Linked DNA regions of Homo sapiens: region 1 is linked to region 2. Evidence: promoter capture Hi-C in human tissues and cell types (Jung and others, 2019). All regions are on one chromosome and are shown on one strand. The core of a region is centred on a gene start or on the middle of the fragment in contact, and the rest is flanking DNA. Distances in the headings are between cores, read along the strand shown. Region 1 holds the start of NAALADL1 (N-acetylated alpha-linked acidic dipeptidase like 1). Region 2 overlaps POLA2 (DNA polymerase alpha 2, accessory subunit).

The links. The method cuts DNA at HindIII sites, captures the fragments that hold promoters and counts their contacts. A contact is called where the count stands out against the background at its distance.
Region 1: the fragment with the promoter of NAALADL1 here is called in contact with a fragment that was not itself captured in region 2 in 6 of the 25 tissues and cell types used here (adrenal gland, dorsolateral prefrontal cortex, hippocampus and 3 more).

The regions. Positions count from the first base shown.
Region 1 is chr11:65,057,294-65,060,236 of GRCh38, reverse strand. It overlaps NAALADL1 (N-acetylated alpha-linked acidic dipeptidase like 1), which reads left to right and starts at 1,684. Exons shown (of 18, transcript NM_005468.3): 1 at 1,684-1,900; 2 at 1,987-2,159; 3 at 2,241-2,362; 4 at 2,744-2,866. The coding sequence starts at 1,716. The HindIII fragment of the contact is 22,908 bases long and covers 1-2,943 here.
Region 2 is chr11:65,280,142-65,282,857 of GRCh38, reverse strand. POLA2 (DNA polymerase alpha 2, accessory subunit) reads right to left here. Exons shown (of 18, transcript NM_002689.4): 8 at 1,711-1,866; 9 at 1,126-1,188; 10 at 337-379. Among named protein-coding and RNA genes, the nearest start is that of POLA2, 20 kb to the right of the region's middle. RefSeq lists an enhancer at 2,389-2,716. The HindIII fragment of the contact is 6,666 bases long and covers 1-2,716 here.

The sequences.
Region 1 (2,943 bases), core at 435-2,934, 220 kb after region 2:
ATGGTGGTGCCAGCAAAATGGGGTTGTGAGCAGGAAGGAGGCTGCTCTGAGAGGGGTCTGTGAAATCACACACACACACATGCACGTGCACACACACACACACACACACACACGCTCTGCCCTGATCCAGCCCCCAAGCTCTGCAGGCATCTTTGAGCCCATCCATGGGCTGCAACCTGCGAGGCAGAGTCAAGGCAGGATAGGCCATGGGAGGGTGGGAGAAGTCCCAGCTCAAGTCCCTAGGGACCCCCCCAGCCCCTCCTGGCTCTCCGTGAGGTCTGGAAGAGGCTCAGTATGTGTATGGCATACTTGGGGTCTCACTTCCCTCTCAGCCCTTGCAAATGCTGGAACACCTTTTCAGCCTTGGAGGACCCCCTCAGATGTTCCCTCCTAGTCAGAACTCCTCACTCTTTCACTGGGAGCATGGTGATCCTCCCTCTACAGGGCACTTACCACATGGCTGAACCTAAAGCCTGTCTGCCTCGCCTGCTGGATTTTGCTTCCCCACAGCCTTGCATGGCTCTAGTATAGCACAGAATGAACAGTGCTTGCATGTATAAAGGAAGGAATGAATAAGTGAATGGAGGGATGGGTGGATGGATAAATAGGAGGGTGGATGACGGAGTCCAGGCAGAGCCAGGGGATAGAAGAGGAAGTCACCTCGCCAGGGAGGCATGGGCTTCCCCTGCTGCCTCCTCTGGGACAGCCTCCCTTCCCAGGACTCCCATTCCTCGTATCGCTGGGCTCCCTTCAGGATAGACACAGAGAGTTCTTCTGGGTCCTCCTTCTTCCTTTAGCTCTAGGCCTTACATTTTCCAGAGTCAGATGAGGGATGAGTAGTTAAAATTGATGAGCTCCCACTACATGTCAGACACTGCACTAGCTATTTCTACAGATGCCATATTGTTTAATGAAAATGACACCATAGCCGGCACGGTGGCTCACTCCTGTCATCCCAGCACTTTGGGAGGCTGAGGCGGGTGATCACCTGAGATCAGGAGTTTGAGACCAGCCTGGCCAACATGGTGAAACCCCATCTCTACTAAAAATACAAAAATTAGCTGGACATGGTGGTGCACACCCGTAATCCCAGCTACTCGGGAGGCCGATGCAGGAGAATCACTTGAGCCCGGGAGGTGGAGGTTGCAGTGAGCCGAGATCACACCACTGGACTCCAGCCTGGGTGTCAGTGGAAGACACAGTCTAGAAAAAAAAAAAAGAAAACAGGTGTAGAGAAGCTGAGTGGATTGCCCAAGGTCACACAGCTTACGTCCAGCAAGAAGGGGGATCTCAACTCAAAATCTGCTCAGGCAGGTAGGGCTGGGTATGCTGTAGATCGGCTGCCTTGGAGGGAGGCAGAGGCAGTGAGGGTGGGCAGTGGGCACGGCCCTGCTGTGAACACAGGAGCTCTGAGTTCCAGCCCTGGCTTGGCCTCTGTTTTCCTGGGACACCCTGGATGAGCCCCTTCCCTCTCGGCTTCAGTGTCCCTGGGTGACCTTGCTGCCCTTGGAGAGCCATTCCAGGCAAATGGTGCAGGATGTGGTGGATGTGGATGGCTCCTGGCTCTCACTGCGGGATGTTCCCTCACTCTCCCTGCCAGCTGGGGGTCAAAGGGCAGTGCCACCCATGGGGTAATGTTTAACCAGGCACAACACCCCCTCTATAGGGAATAACCTATAGACCAGTCCTACCCCAGCTGGCCAAGAGTCCGCAGGATGCAGTGGACGAAGGTGTTGGGGCTGGGGCTGGGGGCTGCTGCCCTCTTGGGGCTGGGGATCATCCTCGGCCACTTTGCCATCCCCAAAAAAGCCAACTCACTGGCCCCCCAGGACCTGGACCTGGAGATCCTGGAGACCGTCATGGGGCAGCTGGATGCCCACAGGATCCGGGAGAACCTCAGGTGAGAAGTGGGGCCATCTGCTCCTCCGTTTGCCAGAGGCCCCCTCCCTGATGCTGGCCCTGCCCCTCCCTCTGCCCACCCTGCAGAGAACTCTCCAGGGAGCCACACCTGGCCTCCAGCCCTCGGGATGAGGACCTGGTGCAGCTGCTGCTGCAGCGCTGGAAGGACCCAGAGTCAGGCCTGGACTCGGCCGAGGCCTCCACGTACGAAGTGCTGCTGTCCTTCCCTAGCCAGGAGCAGCCCAACGTCGTGGACATCGGTGAGGTCCTGCCCAGTCTTGGGAATGCCCGGGGGTGGGGAGCTGCTGGGCCCAGCCATGATACTGCCACCCCTCCAACAGTGGGCCCCACTGGGGGCATCATCCACTCCTGCCACCGGACTGAGGAGAACGTGACCGGGGAGCAAGGGGGGCCAGATGTGGTACAACCCTATGCTGCCTATGCTCCTTCTGGAACCCCACAGGTGGGCCCAGAACCCCCCCTACTGCTCTGGCCCAGCTCCCTTGGTTCCACCCAGGGTTCTCCCCACCCTGACCCAGGGAACGTGCCTCAACTGGGGCACAGCGCGCCCTCCGGAATTTACTCACCGGGACACTCCATCGCTGCTCCTTTCCTCCATCAGTCATTCAACAAACACTAGTGGCTCTGCTCAAGGCCAGGTCTGTTACAGGGCACCCAGACATGGAGGAAATGAGGGGTGACTGTTCTTGGGGAGCTTACAAGCTCTGGGTGAGGTGGGGGAACAGAATCTAAATTCTCCCTCCTGCCATGCAAACTTCCACCCCCCTTCCCCACCCACACTTCGCTGGGCCCAGCTCTAAGGATCACCCCCTCTTGGGACTAGGGCCTCCTCGTCTATGCCAACCGGGGCGCGGAAGAAGACTTTAAGGAGCTACAGACTCAGGGCATCAAACTTGAAGGCACCATTGCCCTGACTCGATATGGGGGTGTAGGGCGTGGGGCCAAGGTGAGTGGCAGTCCCCCAGTGCAGGAGGCCTCGGTGAGGAAGGGGCTGGGCAGTGGACTGGAGGAAGTGAGGGGAAG
Region 2 (2,716 bases), core at 1-2,500:
CGCATCTGCCCATGCTGCATGTAAATAAATTCTTTTTGAAATCGTACATCTTTTCCTTTCCAAGGCAACCTTCAAAAATACCTGTTAAACATTAGTCTTTAAACAACATGCTTCATGTAGGCAGAACTCAGGCGACAGCACGACCAACGCTCACTGGGCTCAGACCAGGGGTCTTGTGACAAAAAACCTACGAACTCATGATGGTGGCGCCCTCACTGCTTGGTCACATTGCTCTTCAGCAGCTTCTGCAGCTTTCTTGGGCTTGGGAAACTGCACTCCTGGACTCATGTCTACCATCCTCATTGTTGGCAAAACAATATTTGAACCGAAACTCACCTGCATCCTCTTCAGTGGGCTGATAAAATGGAAGTGGCACACCCTAAAAACAGGGGAAAAGCTCAAGTAAGGTCTTGCGCCAGGCATCACCTTGGTAAGGAAAGGGGAGGGCACCAGGTTGGGGGTGGTGCAGGTGTGTGATGGGAGGACAGTGGGGAGGAGCGAGAGGGCAGGGGAAGGATGTGCCTCTGTCTTGCTCCCTGGATCTGATGGGACCTGCCATTTTTCTATACTGCTCAGAGGGCAAAGAAACCCAGGTAATGGGAGGTCACTACTCAATTGTCATAAAATACCCAGCAACAAGTGGGAGCAAAACAGGTGCCTAAAGTATCAGTGTACTTCTAGGCAAGGATGGGAGAGAATGGTTTCTTGCTACTTTTCCTGGCATTCTACGAAAATCTCTGGAGGATTGTTGCCTAGAGCAGGGATAGGTAACCTTTCGGCCTCTGGGCCAAATTTGGCTGCAGCCCACTATTTAAATAAAGTTTTATGGGAACACAGCCACAGTCATCTGTTTAAGAGTCCTCTATGGCTGCTTTTGTAGACAAAGGCAGAATTGAGTCATTGTGACAGAGACCATATAGCTACAAAGTCTAAAAGAGTTACTGTCTGGCCCTTTATAGAAAGGGTTTGCTGACCCCTGGCCTAGGGGTGGGTTCCCACTTACAGATGGAGAACTGACTAACAAATAAATGGGCTCCTAAAAAGGACCAGTTTCTAGAACAGACAGCTTCCAGACATACTTTGTCTGAAGCAAACCAAGAGGCAAGTGGGGGTACTGCTGTGTACCTCGTAGAGTTTGGTGGCAACAAGTTTCCTACCAGTGGTGTTGATTCCTTCCATAATTACAACCTGAAAGACAAAAACAAACAGGATTGCTAAGCAGTGGAGATCAATGAGGTCTGGAATACATTATTTTGAGGCAGTTAAAAGCATTGTCCAACTACTCTCATTCTGTAATCATAAACTTAGGGCATTTTTGTAGAAAACGAATTAAGGGCGTTGCATTAGTAATAATAATTATGCTCTATATAAGTGATCTAATTTTCACAACAATCCTATGAGGTAAGAATTATTATTTCCATTTTGTGAGTGAAGAAACTGTAGTTTAGATGGTTAAGTACCTTGTGCACAGTCATGCACCTCATGGAGCGGGGAGTTGGGATTTGAGGCTGCGCAGTCAGGTCCCAGAGCCTGGGTCAGAGCATGGGGGAAACAGGAATCCCAACAGTGGTGTCTGCTCTGGGGCATGTGCTCCAGCTGCACCCCATGGCAGCAGAGACAGGAACTGAGGAGCAGCTGCGCATGGCACAGCACCTACACTACAGGGGTAAAGAGTGCGCCTGCATTCTGGTGGAACTCCTCCAATCTCACCTGTCCAGGAAACAGAGAATATTCCTTAAGCTCAGATAAATCCACTGGAATTTGAGCACCCGAGGAATGTTCCCGGTCTCCCTCGAGAATCACTGACTTGTTGTTCAGCTTCCCGTTGCTATCACAGCCAATCTGGCCCAGCAGAGTGACAGGCTCCTACCAAAGGAAGGTCACAGCATAAGAATGACAGTCTTTGGAGCAGGAGCTCAAAATCTGAAGTCGATAGGGTGAATAGCAAAACAAACTGCAAACAACAAATACATTTCTTGGCAGGGCATTGCTTTGACCCTGAGGTGACTACCGCGTCATCACTGACTCTCAGGATGGAAGAACTCTGAAAGGGCATCTTGTCCACCCATCCACCCAGCACTTGAGCCTTCCTAGGAGGCTGCCTAAGTGTGAGCATCTCTAGTGTAGGGGAACTTGCCCCTGGATGCCTACCCCACCCTGTCCTCACCACCCCAGGGCAGCCCACTGCATCTTTGGGCAGCTATAACTACTTAATAATAGCTAACATTTCTTGAGCTTACTAAATACCATGCACTGTTCTAAAATGTATTCTTAGGCATTTTATATGTATTAACTCATTTAATCCTTGCAACAACCATCGGGTGGATATTACTGTATCCATTTTACAGATGAGGAAAACAAGCAACAGAAAGGTTAGATAATTTAGTCAAGGTCAAACTGTGGGTGAAGCTTGGGTTTGAAACCAGAAATTTGGCTCTAGAGCCATATCCTTAGCCACATACCATACAACCTCTTAACAGGAAGTTCTTTATTAATTGAGCTAAAATCTCTGTCTCCATGGCTTCCTCTGTTCTGTTCCCACTCTTGGGAGAAAACAGAGGAAGTCTCATCTTTCCCAGTGATTGTGCCTCCCTGCCTTCCCTCAATTACTTCCTTCCAAGTCCTCTAACACTTCCTTCTATGACACAGTTCTGCATCACTTCCCCAACTGATCATTCTTTGAATGTAAACATTGACAAAGGTACTTTAAAGAAAC